Linked DNA regions of Homo sapiens: all the other regions are linked to region 1. The links are contacts of gene promoters, found by promoter capture Hi-C in blood cells and fetal thymus (Javierre and others, 2016). All regions are on one chromosome and are shown on one strand. Each heading gives the region's core, a stretch centred on a gene start or on the middle of the fragment in contact. The rest is flanking DNA. Distances are from core to core; before and after follow the strand shown. Region 1 holds the start of ZNF777 (zinc finger protein 777). Region 2 holds the start of ZNF212 (zinc finger protein 212). Region 3 has its middle 3.1 kb from the start of TRC-GCA9-3. Region 4 has its middle 3.2 kb from the start of KRABD3. Region 5 overlaps ZNF212 (zinc finger protein 212).

The links. The method cuts DNA at HindIII sites, captures the fragments that hold promoters and counts their contacts. A CHiCAGO score of 5 or more calls a contact.
Region 2: the fragment with the promoter of ZNF212 here is called in contact with the fragment with the promoter of ZNF777 in region 1 in 7 of 17 cell types (naive CD4 T cells, total CD4 T cells, non-activated CD4 T cells and 4 more); the score reaches 8.5 in naive CD4 T cells.
Region 3: a fragment that was not itself captured here is called in contact with the fragment with the promoter of ZNF777 in region 1 in 2 of 17 cell types (naive B cells and neutrophils); the score reaches 6.1 in naive B cells.
Region 4: a contact is called between a fragment that was not itself captured here and the fragment with the promoter of ZNF777 in region 1, in 1 of 17 cell types (naive B cells). The highest score is 5.5, in naive B cells.
Region 5: a fragment that was not itself captured here is called in contact with the fragment with the promoter of ZNF777 in region 1 in 5 of 17 cell types (total CD8 T cells, naive CD8 T cells, naive CD4 T cells and 2 more); the score reaches 6.9 in total CD8 T cells.

What each region holds. Positions count from the first base shown.
Region 1 is chr7:149,459,615-149,462,314 of GRCh38, forward strand. It overlaps ZNF777 (zinc finger protein 777), which reads right to left and starts at 1,448. Exons shown (of 6, transcript NM_015694.3): 1 at 1,201-1,448. RefSeq lists silencers at 109-468, 479-558, 849-918, 1,089-1,428. The HindIII fragment of the contact is 6,109 bases long and covers 1-2,700 here.
Region 2 is chr7:149,238,274-149,240,973 of GRCh38, forward strand. ZNF212 (zinc finger protein 212) reads left to right here and starts at 1,378. Exons shown (of 5, transcript NM_012256.4): 1 at 1,378-1,529. The coding sequence starts at 1,506. RefSeq lists an enhancer at 1,145-1,439. The HindIII fragment of the contact is 6,599 bases long and covers 1-2,212 here.
Region 3 is chr7:149,631,251-149,633,950 of GRCh38, forward strand. No RefSeq gene overlaps it. Among named protein-coding and RNA genes, the nearest start is that of TRC-GCA9-3, 3.1 kb to the right of the region's middle. The HindIII fragment of the contact is 2,807 bases long and covers 1-2,669 here.
Region 4 is chr7:149,710,419-149,713,118 of GRCh38, forward strand. No RefSeq gene overlaps it. Among named protein-coding and RNA genes, the nearest start is that of KRABD3, 3.2 kb to the right of the region's middle. The HindIII fragment of the contact is 577 bases long and covers 991-1,567 here.
Region 5 is chr7:149,254,272-149,256,971 of GRCh38, forward strand. ZNF212 (zinc finger protein 212) reads left to right here. Exons shown (of 5, transcript NM_012256.4): 5 at 1-1,335. The coding sequence ends at 144. LOC124901769 (a long non-coding RNA gene) reads right to left here. Exons shown (of 2, transcript XR_007060582.1): 2 at 1,703-2,700. Among named protein-coding and RNA genes, the nearest start is that of ZNF783, 6.6 kb to the right of the region's middle. The HindIII fragment of the contact is 4,757 bases long and covers 1-2,700 here.

The DNA of each region.
Region 1 (2,700 bases), core at 198-2,697:
GCAGGCCTTTCTGGGGCTGCCGCACCGTGCCACGGATGCCTTGCTACGTGACCTTGGGGCCGGCAGGGCGGGTCGCCGCCAGGTGTCTGTGCCTCAGTGTCTCCGTTCTGCGAAATGGGAGAGCCGCGTCAGCGCCGCGCCCGGGCCGGGGAAGGCTCCGCGGGGCCGAGCTCTGCGGAAAACGTGCCGGCGGCTACCCCGACGGACGCAGCGCGGGCCCCGCAGGGAGCGAGCGCGCCTCCGGGCGCCCCACCTCGGGGCCGCGTGTGTGCCGGGCCGGGCGTGAGAGCAGCCTCCCTCGCACGGACGGCGGCGAGGCCCGTAGCCCTCCCCCACCGCCCGGGTCAAGACGCGCGGGCCCCCTCCAGGGCGCCCCCACCCCCCGCGCCAACGTCGTAGCGTTTCTGCCCCTTACCGAGATCCCAGGCCGGGCCGCCGAGCCCGGGACACGCAGGCCGTCCCCGGGGCCCCGAGGCCGCGCGTCCGTGCGCGCGCGGGCCGCCCTCACAGGAGCCGGGGCCGCCTCGGCCATGGCCCTGCGCTGTCCGGCCCGGGCCCCCGGAGTCGCCGCCGCTACTGCCGCCGCCGCTACTGCGCGCGGCCCCACGCAGGCCCGGCCGCCCGGCGCTCTCCGCAGGCGGCGCCGGCCCAGCCCTGTCTTCCCCGCCGGGGCTCGCGCGCGGCCGTCGGGCCCCGGCCTGCTCGGGGCGCGCGGGGCGAGCGGGCGCGGGGTCGCGGAGCCCGAGCGGCGGCGTCGGAGCTGGGCGCGCGGCTGTGCGGGCGGCCCGGCCGGCTGCGTCCCGGCGGCGAGCTGGGCCCCGGCCCTCAACGGCGGCCCCCGGCCCGCGCGCCGCCCCTCTGCGGCCGCGGCTGGGACCCCAGCTCCGGCCCCGGCCCCGGCTGCGAGCTGCGCTGCCGTCCCGGCGCCTCTTTAGCAGGGGAGCTGCACAGCAGCTGCCATGTTGCTACAAACTGCATCCTGGGAGGCATGTCCCTCTCAGGCCGTTTAAAGAGAAACACTCCGAGGCTCGTCGGAGGCTGCCGGAACCCAGACAGCTCCATCTACAGCCGGTAGGAGCGAACAGTGTCGAGCGAGCCGCCCGGCGGCGACGGACACGCCCTGAGCCCGGGCCAGCCCGTCGTGGAGCCCGGGCCGAACCGCCGGGGCCTCCCACCCTCCAGGACCCTCCGGCCTCTCACCTGGGGTCCTCGCCTGCCCAGGCACCCTCGGGCGAGGCCGGGAGGCGCGCGGGCGGAGGCGCAGTCGGAGCGCGCAGCCCAGGCGACGTGCTGGGGTCTGGAGGCGGCTTGATTGGCTCCGACAGCCTTCCTCCCGCCGATCCCCTGCGCCTCTCACACCCAGAACCCGGGGTCGTTCCCTTTCAAAACCTGCGCTCACAAAGGGATCTAAGAAACCCGTCACACCAGAGAAAGCCCGGAGTTCATGTGACCAGCTCAGTGCAGCCCGGGTTCCAGGGACGCGGGCTGTGCTTCCAAGGGGAGCCAGGGGGTTGGGTGCTTTTGTGAAATGCCCGAGTGTTGTTTTCGACATGAAAGGACCGAATTCCTAGAATCAGACCCTGCTGGGGCTGGAAGTGGCCAGACGGGTCATTTAGGAGGAAACTGAGGCCGAGTGGGCAGCGACTTGTTTACCCTCAGTCACAGTATGAATGAATGCTCTTTGTAACCATGAGAAGTCCCAAAAGAAATGCAGGAGCTTAGAGTTGAGAACTCCCCTTCCTGGACAGGTCCACTTAAACATGTATTAATTGAATACCTACGAGGTGGCGAGAACTGGGGATGAATTGAAAAGGAAAAAAAAAGAAGAAACTATAGGCAGGCGTCCTGGTTACTAGCGATGAAGCCCAACTGGAACTAACTTAAGTGAGGGAAGACGGCGGGGGGGAGCAGAGGACATTGTGTTTACCTAATGGAACCCCAGGAGTGGAGCTGGTCTTGGAAGGCAACAGGACTCAGTATGCTGGCAGCTCAGATAATGGAAAGTTATGGCCAGACGTGGTGGCTCATGCCTGTAATCCCAGCACTTTGGGAGGCTGAGGTGGGCAGATCACGAGGTCAAGAGATCGAGACCAACCTGGCTAACGTGATGAAACCCTGTCTCTACTAAAAATACCAAAATTAGCTGGACGTGGTGGCGCGGCCCTGTAGTCCCAGCTACTTGGGAGGCTGAGGCAGGAGAATCTCTTGAACCCGGGAGGCAGAGGTTGCAGTGAGCCGAGATCGCCCCACTGCACTCCAGCCTAGGGGACAGATCAAGACTCCGTCTCAAAAAACAAAAAAAAGGAAAGTTACAGATAGAGGTAAGGCCAGAGCTATGCATCCTGTCCCCTCCCTTCCCGGAGGCTAGAGTTCTCACCCAGGTCTTTATGCATTAACTAACATGTGTGCATTCGTAAACAATGCACACTACTGGTTTTGGTATTTTTACATTTTATGTGAATGATATTATCCAGTCCCTATCCTGTTGCAACTTGCTTTTTTCCATGGGTCATTTTGTTTTTGAGATACAGACATGTTTAAACAAGAATATCTGGTTCATTCATTTTACCCACAATATAGTATTTCATTGAATACATAAACTACAGTTTACGTTCCATTCCCCCTAGAGGAATGAGAACAAACCTGCTGCCAGCGACATCTGCATGCATGTCTCATTGTGCACTGCTAAAGTGCGTCTCT
Region 2 (2,700 bases), core at 128-2,627, 220 kb before region 1:
CCGTTGATCTAGTTGCCCTGGAAATAATGCCTCTGTTTGAGATGACATTTCATATCCTTACACTCTGATTCACCATTCAATCATTTACAAATATGAACACTTCTGTGTACAACAAATGGAGGATACAGTAGACAGACATTTCAGTGGAAGAGATACAGATAATTAATATGTAAATGAGTGAAAAAGAGAGATTACTTCAGATGGTGATAAATGGTATGAAAAATTTCCAGCAGGGTAACGAGATTGAGTATTGAGATGGAGGATGGTGTGGGGCTGTAGAAAGGGGGGACTGGGGATATCTCTCTGAGGATGTAGAATCTGAACTGAGCCCTGCATGTGAGGAAGGAGCCAGTCATGATCTTAAAAGTTTCGTTCTCCGCCGGGTGGGGTGGCTCACACCTGTAATCCCGGCGCTTTGGGAGGCTGAGGTGGGCGGATCACCTGAGGTCGGGAGTTTGAGACCAGCCTGACCAACATGGGGAAACCCCGTCTCTACTAAAAATACAAAATTAGCCAGGCGTGGTGGCACATGCCTGTAATCCCAGCTACTAGGGAGGCTGAGGCAGAAGAATCGCTTGAGCCCGGGAGGTGGAGGTTGCAGTGAGCCGAGATTGCGCCATTGCACTCCAGCCTGGGCAACAAGAGCGAAACTCCATCTCAAAAAAAAAAAGTTTCGTTCTCAGAGGAAACACTTCACGCCTATCCTGTGAAGTGGAAGTTCATTGCTTGTCTCCAGAGAGACAATGGTATAAATTAGGCAGCTATGGTTGCCGTAGTGTTGCTGGTATTGGGGATTAAGTACATGGCGATTAAATGGTCATGTGGCCGTGCTTTCCAACAAAAATTCCAGACACATCGTCTTACATGTAGCATGAGGACTGGAAATATTTGAAATCAGGGTTGTCTTGGACTTTCCAAGGCACATGATTACCATAATTAACAGGCTACAGAGGGCTGGCCTGGGCCTGACCCCACGCTCCACACTGTTGATATGGAAACTGTTCCCAGTTTCTAAAAAGCCAAATAACAGGTGAACTTTTGGAATAAAATCACTTGCCTTTTGGAACCATATTTCTTTTCCCCAACAACATTACATGTTCTTTCCTCAGCAAAAAGTCTGAGTTGTACACATTTTTGAATCCCTCAAAGCATTTAGCAGAGTGCTGGGCATACGGAAGACAGCAGGATCCCGTGGCTTTGCCTGAAACGCGGAACCTGGTCTTGACTTTTGAGTGACTGAGCCCTCCTGGTGCCCGCACTCTGGCCGGGAGTGCCAAGCAGCGTTCTCCCTCCCGCCGCACGGGGGCACAATGGGAAGCCTGCACAGTGAGGAAGAGCGGCTGGAGCCGGTCTTGTGCCGGGGAGGTCGCTGCTCCCAGAATGCACCTGGCATCAACACGGCGGCGGCGGCGGCGGCTTCCAACAGGCTCTGGGGCGCCGAGCGGACAGGAACGCAGCACGGGGGCTCCGAGGCGGGGTCTGGGTGTTGAGGGGCGACTGGAGCCATGGCGGAGTCGGCGCCTGCTCGGGTAAAGAGGCACCGGCGCGCTGGCTCGAGGGCGCGTTGGGGATGGCGGAGTCCCCTGCCGGGGGCGGGGCTTCGCGGTTTGGACGCCGCCGGGGTCTTGGTTTCCCGGGGCTGCCGTTGGCGCGGGTGAACGCGGACCCTCCTCTTCGCGACCCCAGTGCTCTGCCCTTTTTTCCCTCCGCTTCCTTCTGCAGCGGGGTCGGAGCCTCGGCGCCGTGCGCCCTTGCCCAGAAACTTCTCTGACGCTTGCTTTAGGTTGGTGGATTTGTGACCCTGCCCACACATTTTCTCTTTCGTGCCAAAAGAGCCCGTTCCCAGGTTGGAGTGTTTCCAGATTGGAAACGGTCTCCGTCGCTACGAGTGAGCTCTCCCGCTGCCCGGGAGACCCCAGGACTTGCCTCTCTGCGACCACCTCCTCTTCGGTCCGATGTGTTGTCGGTTTTTCCAGTGCTGCAGATTTCTGTCTGGGGGTTGCAGCCACAGGTTGAAGTCAGCCTGGGCTGCTTCTCCTTGGGGACGGATGTTATCTACAGTGCAGTTGCTGCATTTTGTTTGTAGAGCTGCCCAAACTCTCTCCTTCACCCCCCCCCCAACACCCCCCTCCCAGCCCACCGACCATCCCCATTCTGGGAATGTCAAGATACGGAGTTTGGTGTGAGGAAAATCCTATTTGTGGAGTCACGAAGCTTTCAGCTGTCCATTTGGGTGATTTTAGGCAACTGTGTTCGCTTCTCTGGGTCTCTTTCGTTTTCTTAACTGTAAATCGAGAGTGTTGGAGTAGTTGCTAGATGATCTCCAAGGCTTTAAGTTTCCTTCCAGCTCCGACATTCTCATACTGTTCCCATACTGTTTCAAAGTAGTGGTTAATTTAACAACACCAGAGGGTTTGCAACGGAAGGGGCAGCTGGAATTGAATTGACTTTTAATGAAGTGTTCCTTGGTCTAGAAACACTTCGAGAATCATGTTAGATCTTTGTGAGAATGGAGGGCTAAGGAAATTCTGTGGGGAAAATTTGACCATGAGCAGGGTGCGCTATATTTGATTCTTGTAGAAAGTGCGTTAAGAACTAAGAACGGAGAGATTGGGAGACTTAGAGAACACAGTATTTGCTTTCAAGGAAGTTAACAGTTGAATTGGGAAGACAAGACACAAATGTTTACAATATTAACCT
Region 3 (2,700 bases), core at 16-2,515, 170 kb after region 1:
ACGTTTTCTGATGTTTACATGTTCTTACTGTTACCAAAAATGTTTCATTATCCTCATTTTGACCTTAATCTTGTCTACCTCTCTCTGTTCCCATGACCGCAGGGCCACCTTGGGGCTCAGCTATCTGCCTGCCCATTATTGATCCCATGTTTGGCCTCTCAGTCATGATTCCAGCTCCTTTGAGAGCTTGGTCTGTGGTCTATCTACCTCTCTCATGAGCCCTTCTGCTTCCGCGGATACACACGCCTTTGGCCTTTCCCACCTTTGCTCTGGGGAAGCCAGTCTTTGATGGAGTAAATTGTAGAGCCAGGCAAATGGTCCCACTGCAAATCTACACCAGTTTGACCTCAACCAGTGCCTCTCTCTAATGAGCAATGATTCTATTCCTTTCTAATTCACTTCTTCTCCATTTCCCACAGTGCCTGATTCACACTTTGCCCTTCTTCCCAAGTAATGATTCCCACCCTACCTCCTTTATTCTCTTTGGAAGACTTTGTTTTCTATCTGACTGAGAAGACCAAGGCCATGGAGGCCCCCCAGCATCCTCTGCTCTGCATCTTCACCTTCTCCTCATCCCCTCCAGGCTAAGAGGAAAAGCCTGCCTGCTCCTCTCTAGAGCACATCCTGTGTTCTTTATCCACCCTTTGGCTTTCCCTGGGATCTCCTTCCATTAATATATCCTCTCTTTTTTATTGACACATTTGAGCATATTCATATATGTACTGGCCATTCATGATATACAGGGAACCCTACAGGCACATCTTTGCAGCAATTATGGTGAACTGTGTGTGCTTTGATAGACATACAGGAGCCATGGAGCATGTGGCAGGGGTCCCACCCATCAGGAGGGTCAGGAGGGCTTCCCAGGAGAACACCCACCCAAGTGCTCCACTTCACTGAGACTGTGCTTGTCACAGTCCTTGGTGACCATGTGTCATGGGTGATTCTCATCTTTAATTCAAGCCCTCAGTAGCATTTTTTTTTCAATCGACATTGGGGCTGTCACTCTTTTTCTGTTGTTTTCTTTGTACTTCTCTGCCACTTTTCCTCAATCTCTTTTGCTGGTTTCTCCTTAACATCCCCATTTTTAAACATTCGAGGGCCCAGGTCTTAGTTCCTAGACCACTTTTCTTTTCACTCCCACTTCCTCAGTGCTCTCATTCCATCCTGCGGCTTTAATGGGATGATGACCCTCAAATTTATATCTTTAGCCAACACCTCCCCTTCGAACTCCAGCTTCATTTTTGACATCTCCATTAGACCATTTAACAGATGGATTCAATTTAATACATCACAGATTGAACTCCTGACTTCCACCACCCCCTCAAATTTCATTTCTGCTGCAATGAAAATGGCCATCTCAGAGAATGGCCCCCCCATCCCGCCGGGTGCTCAGGACAGAAAACCTTGGCATTATCCTTGACTTTTCCCTTTCTCTCACACCCTGCTCTCAAATCATCAGCAAATCCTGTTCACACTGCTTCAAAATATATCCAAAATCTGACCACTTCTCATTGCCTCCACCATCAGACAAAGCTGAAATCATCTCTCATCCAGGTTATGGTGACAACTTCCTGAACTTGTGTCCCGGCTTCCATACATGTCCTCTAGTGCCCTCAGGCCAGCCAGAGGACGAAATCAGCTTATGTTATTCCTCTGCAAGAAATCCTCCAATCACTCCCATCTAATCCAGAGTGGAAGCCCATGTCCGTACACAACCTATCCCAATGGTGACTGAAACAGACATGGGCTCTTGAAACTAGAGGAATAGATCAAGATGTACAAATGTTCACAGAAGTTAAAAATGGAAAATATGAGAAATACTAGATGGTAAGATGCAGGGATATTATAAGACTATTACTGGGATATCAAAGCGATTGCAGGAGGTAAGGACACTTTCCTTGAGGAAGTGATGTTTCATTCATGGCGTACTGGTAAGGTGAAATATTTGTGGTAGTTATTATGCATAAGTAGTGTGTATACCATTGGGGCTGATGTGAAAAATTCTCTCTCTTGGGTAGTGTGGCCATCCTGCTGGCTTTTTCCAGGGCACCTACTGTCCATTTTAGCCATAGAAGCTGGTGCTGGAGTTCACCTCCTTTGCCCAGCTAAGGCTTCTGCACAGTGAGATGAGGCAGGTAGTGACTCCCGCCCCAGGAAACTCTCACTGATCCCTGTGGTCTCCTTGGGCTGCCTCTGTCTGTGCCTTGTGTGTGTTTCACTCTCCCAGCCCCTTTTAGGACCCCCTGAGAGTCCACATTGGGACACCTGGAGCCAGTCTTCACCACATCATGCCCACCAGAGGAGACAAGTTCTCTTTTATGAAGATGGAATTTGCCATCACAAAAGAGGCTTGCCCATCTGCTCTCTTCTTCCTTGCTGAGGGCAATATTGCATAGTTTCCGGAAGGTGGGGCAGGGAAATTTGAGAGGAAAATTTGCCCAACTGACTTCTTTTCATCTATACTTTTACTTCCTTGGGCTCTTAGGTCTCTTACTACCTCTGGTTTTGTGAAGAGCCACCCCCTGGCAAGGTCAGTCATGCCTGGAGTTCCCATGCCATGTAAAATTGTCTGTATGCTGGTACAAGGACTCCAACTATTGCTAACCTTCTAGTCTCCTTACAGTTAGCACATTGGTCTGAGTAATTTATGTAATTTCCCTATTGGAAGCTTAGGGCAGTTTCCGAGGGGAATTCTAA
Region 4 (2,700 bases), core at 29-2,528, 250 kb after region 1:
TTGCCTCGGCCTCCCAAAGTGCTGGGATTCCAGGTATGAGCCACCATGCCCAGCTTGGGAAGAGGCAATATTAAAAGATATAATAGCTGAGAATTTTCCAGACTTGTACAAAGATGTGACACCTCAGATTTAGGACTCACGAGTTCCAAGAAAGATAAATAAAAGATCCATACCTAGCCACATTGCAGTGAAACTTCATGATACCACAGATAAAGAGATTTTTTTTTTTTTTTAGATGGAGTTTTGCTCTTGTTGCCCAGGCTAGAGTGCAATGGTACGATCTCTGCTCACTGCAACCTCTGCCTCCTGGATTCAAGTGATTCTCCTGCCTTAGCCTCCGAGTAGCTGGTATTACAAGCATGCACCACCATGCCTGGCTAATTTTTTTTGTATTTTTAGTAGAGTCGGGGTTTCTCCAGGTTGGTCAGGCTGGTCTCAAACTCCTGACCTCAGGTGATCCTCCCGCTTCAGCCTCCCAAAATGCTGGGATTACAGGTGTGAGCCACCATGCCCGGCCAAACAGATGATTTTAAATGAAGCCAGAGAAGTTAAATCATATGCAAAGGAATAATTAGACTGACAGCAGACTTTTCAATAGCAACAATGAAAGTCAGGAGACAATGGAATAAAATATTAGAAGTGTGAAACAGTTCTCTCCCTGGCTAAAGTATCATTCAGGAGTGAGAAAAATGTAAGACATTTTATATAACTGAAAGTATCCACTTCTAAAATATCCTTGCTGAAATAAATTTTAAAAGTTCTGCTTCAGGAAGAACATTGAACCCAGAAGGAAGAAGAAAGAGGCAAGAAAAAAGAGTGAACAAAGATAGTGGTAAGCACATTGGTAAATCTAAACAGCATAGATTGTATAAAACAAAAACAATGACTTCAAATATCAGGAGAGAGTCTTAAAAACAAGATGTAACTAAAAAGAACAATAATTACACACAAGACAGAAGGGGAAGAGTGTGATTAAACTCATATTCAAAAAGCTTTCTATCATTTGCGAGAAGATCAGAAGTAGTAATATTAGATTCTATTAAACCAAATATGTGTGTAAAATTACAGAGTAACCCCCAAATGAATAAAAAAGGAAAGCATAACTTTCAAATCAGTAGATTCATGATTATGATAGAGATTGTCAGACTGGATTCAGCAGCAACAACAAAATCTAGCTACATGCTCTTATATGACACACATCTGAAACATAAATATACACAAAGTTTGAAAGTAAAAGGACAGGAAAAGATATATCAAAGAAATACTTGCCAAAATAAAGTTAGTGTAGCTGCAGCAATATCAAACAAAATGGATTATAGACAAAGACTATTATTAGGGATAGTGTTACTTTCTAATAATAGAATGAACAATTCTCCAGGAAAATACTACAATTCTAAATTTGTAAGCACACAGCCTCCAAACACATGAAGCGAAAATTCTCACAAATTCAGGGAGAAATTGACAAATGCACAAACTTGATATGAGATTTTAACACCTCTTTAGTAACTGATAGTTCCAAATGCAAAAAGATGATAAACTATAGAAGGCATAAACCACATGATTGATAAGCTTGATTTTACAGCTCTAACTAGATCCTACACCAATATTAGAATATATGTACTCTTTTAGGCAAACATGGAACATTTTCAAACATCTATTGCACACTTGGCCACAAAGCAGTCTCAGAAAATTCTAAAAAATCAACATCACTTACTACATTCTCTGACTATAAGGCAAAACTCAAAAACAAAATAACTCATAAAAAGATTCGTATTTGGAAATTAAAAAGTACTTTTAAATAATCTCATGGATGGAAAAAGAAATAATAATGAAAATCAGAAAATATTTTAAAGTTGCAGCCATTTTCACATGGAGGACTGGCCAGCACAATTTGCCTTTAGATTCATTTGGGAAAAGTGCCGACTAGTTCACCAAAAGTCAATTCACAGAATGACCAGATAGCCAAAAGCCAAATATGGTAAAAGCTAAACCACTGAATATCAACTTGCTAAACAACCAATCTGAATTATTGAAATTTTTTTTTTTTTTTTTTGAGACAGGGTCTTGCTCTGTCACCCAGGCTGGAGTGCTGTGGTGTGATCTTGGCTCACTGCAACCCCCCTCTGCCTCCTGGGCTCAAGAGATTCTCCCACCTCAGCCTTCCAAGCAGCTGGGACTACAGGGGTACACCACTGCACCTGGCTAATTTTTGCATTTTTTGTAGAGATGGGGTTTCATCATGTTGCCTAGGCTGGTTTGGAACTCCCAGGCCCAAGCAATTCACCAGCCTTGGCCTCCCAAAGTGCTGGGATTACAGGTGTGAGCCACCGTGCCTGGCCCCAGCCAAGGAATTTTTAAAGATGTGTTTCAGCTCCACTCCTGCCTTTGTCTGTGTCCAGAGCCATCCAATAAACCTGGTTCAGGACAGGTCTTCACAACTATTTTTTAACGCACACACACGGGCTGAGGTAAATACAGGTCTACAGGGTCAAAGGCGCAACTAAAATTTGGGGGATAGGGGTGCCAGGAAGTGTCTCCATAATTTAAATAATTGGCCATGCAGCAAATTTCATGTTGGTGAACTGCTTTTAGCGACTGATGGTCCACAAATGGGGCAGGAAGCCTAGCCAGGAAGTGGACGTTTGAGTCAAAGAGGTGCCAAGAATCTGCACAGCTTAAAACAAAGGTGCATCTTACTTG
Region 5 (2,700 bases), core at 162-2,661, 210 kb before region 1:
CACACGGGTGAGCGGCCCTACAGCTGCACTGAGTGTGAGAAGAGCTTTGTCCAGAAGCAGCACCTCCTGCAGCACCAGAAGATCCACCAGCGGGAGCGGGGTGGGCTGGCCCTGGAGCCCGGAAGGCCCAATGGCCTGCTTTAAGGGTGCAGCCCCTCGCCCGTCTGGGGGATGGAGGGGGGTGGCATTGGTTCCCCCGAAGAGACACTGCAGTCAGGGACTGAGTTCTTCCTGAGGGCAGTTGTTTGTGATTGCCTTCCCTTGTCCCAGTACCAAGCCAAGCCCAAAGGCTGTCCTGAAAACCCTGTGGAAGAAGAGTCCAGGCCAGGTCTTCATCCTGCTGCCAAGTTTGCTGTTTCTTGGCACCTTCAGGTCTCTGGTTTTCTCATTCATGCCAATGCTTGTGGGCTGGGGTTGGCGTTCTGACCCCACAGGGACTGGTGGCTGGTTCCAGGGCTCGTCCCGGCATTTCATGTCTTCCCACGGGGTTGAGTCGGGCCATAGGGGTGAGCAGCTGCCTGGAAGAGTTCTGGGAAGTATAACCCTCCATTTTTTCTTGTTTTATAATCTCTTTGTTTAATAATAAGTAGAAGAAATAATTTAAATGAACTGCTTAGCCCTGCTCTGAAGAACCTTTTTTGGAATTAGATTTTAGTTGATTTTTTAAAGAATACAGCCCAACACTTGTTTTTTACATTTTAAGAGTTGTAGAAGTTGTTCCTAACTTGGGGACTGGACCTACCCTCTAGGAGGGAGTTGTTAATGGGGCTCTTTTAGCCCACTGATGCTTACTTAGGCCGGAGAGCAGGGGACACGGTGCTAGGTTCCCTCGTGCAGTGCCTGGTGCTCTCAAATTGTCTCAAAAGGACCAAGAGGAAAAGAGTCGGAGGGGTAGACCCTGCAGCCCTGTTGAGAAGAAAGATTCCAGTGAAGTTGCTGATGGTATGGCTGTGGTCTGGGACTTGCGGTGTCTCGGCATACCCCTCTCCTCTTCCCACCTCCTCCTGGCTATGTTCTGCAGCCTCCCAGAGTAGAAAACTACTTTGTTACTTAAGGTTGTTCACCTTGTACCAGTGGTTATTTGAGTTTGTTCCTATTACACCAATCCTTACTTGAGGTGGTTCGGATTACAGTTTCCAAATGCATTCTGGGATTGCCTATTCCAGAGAGGGTACAGAAAAAGCACACAGATGGCTTGTCTCAGGAGTGTTGAATGTGTGCCCCGCTGCTGTCTGGGGGGATGGGAGTGGGCTCTGGGGTCATATGTGAACATCCCCTTGGATGATTTGCGGTTGCTTAGAATAAAACTTGCTACTAGCAAAAGAAAAAAAAAAAGTTCATACTGGATGTTTTTCTCCGTTTGTCAAGAACACTCTCCTGGGGCCAAGGTGGAGGAGAGGCACCTGACCTGGAGTGATGACAGGGAAGGACTGATGGCACAGCCTAACCTGCACTTTTACTTAAACCTAGGACAGAAGACAAGATGTGGCATGGGTGAAAATTTTCAGGGGACTGTACTTATGATGGTGGAGAGCTGGAGACAGTCTGGGTGATGGCTATTGGGAGGTAGAAAGAGTAGGTGAAATGTGGGTACCCCAGGGAGTGCCAGGTAGCTGTTACGAGCATTGGCTTAGATATATGCGTAGCCATCTGGATCCATCTTAAACACAATGCCGAGGGGAAAAGGTAAGAAATTGAGATCTATAATGTAACACCATTTATATAAATTAAAAATGCATGTACACAAAACATTTTGTAAGAACACTTGGGACCAAAGGAGACCCGTTAAAAGACATTACAGTTTTCCACGGGGAGAGCGAGCAAATAAGTAGAAGGAAACTTGGCTTGCTGTAAGGCAGGGGTCCCCAACCTTTTTGGCACCAGGACTGGTTTCGTGGAAGACAGGTTTTCCACAGACAGTGGTGGGGGACGGGATGGTTTTGGAATGAAACTGTTCCACCTCAGATCATCAGGCGTTAGATTCTCATAAGGAGCGCACAACCTAGATCCCTCGCGAGCGCAGTTCACAATAGGGTTCATTCTATGAGAATCTAATGCCGCCGCTGATCTGACAGGAGGCAGAGCTAACCTGCTGTGTGGCCTGATTCCTAACAGGCCATGGACCAGTACTGATCCACAGTCCAGGGGTTGAGGCCTCCTGCTATAAGGTATGGGATTGTCTTGTTACAGAAACAACATGGAGGGAATCCTTGTAGGGCTGGCGCTGTGTGAGGTGGGTAGGTAGCTTCGTCAGGAAAACCTTTGCAGTTTCTTTCCTGTTTCTTCTGCAGTTTTTTCTTACCCTCAAGCCTTTGCCTTATAGACACCCCCTCTGTCCTGTCCTTAGTTACTCTTACTTCCCAATTGTTGAGCGTTTTAATGTGAGCAGCCTTGGGCCTTGTGTTGTGGGGAAAAGCGAAGCACAAAATATGGTCCTACTTCTCCAATTAAGTTAAGTTTTCCTTGAGGCTGGGAAATAATTGTATCAAGCAATTGGACTCCTGCTGACACTTGTTGAATACTTGTGTGCTAGGCACTATTCAAATTATTTCCATGAAAACAAATCCTTATAGTTTTGGGTGGTGAGCATGATTTTACCTAGTTTTCCGTATGAGATGTGGGAGGAGGCCTGAGAAGTGAAGTAAGGTGGCAGAGGTGATGGAAACCCAGAGCATCTTGCTTCCGAGCCACACACTTGGC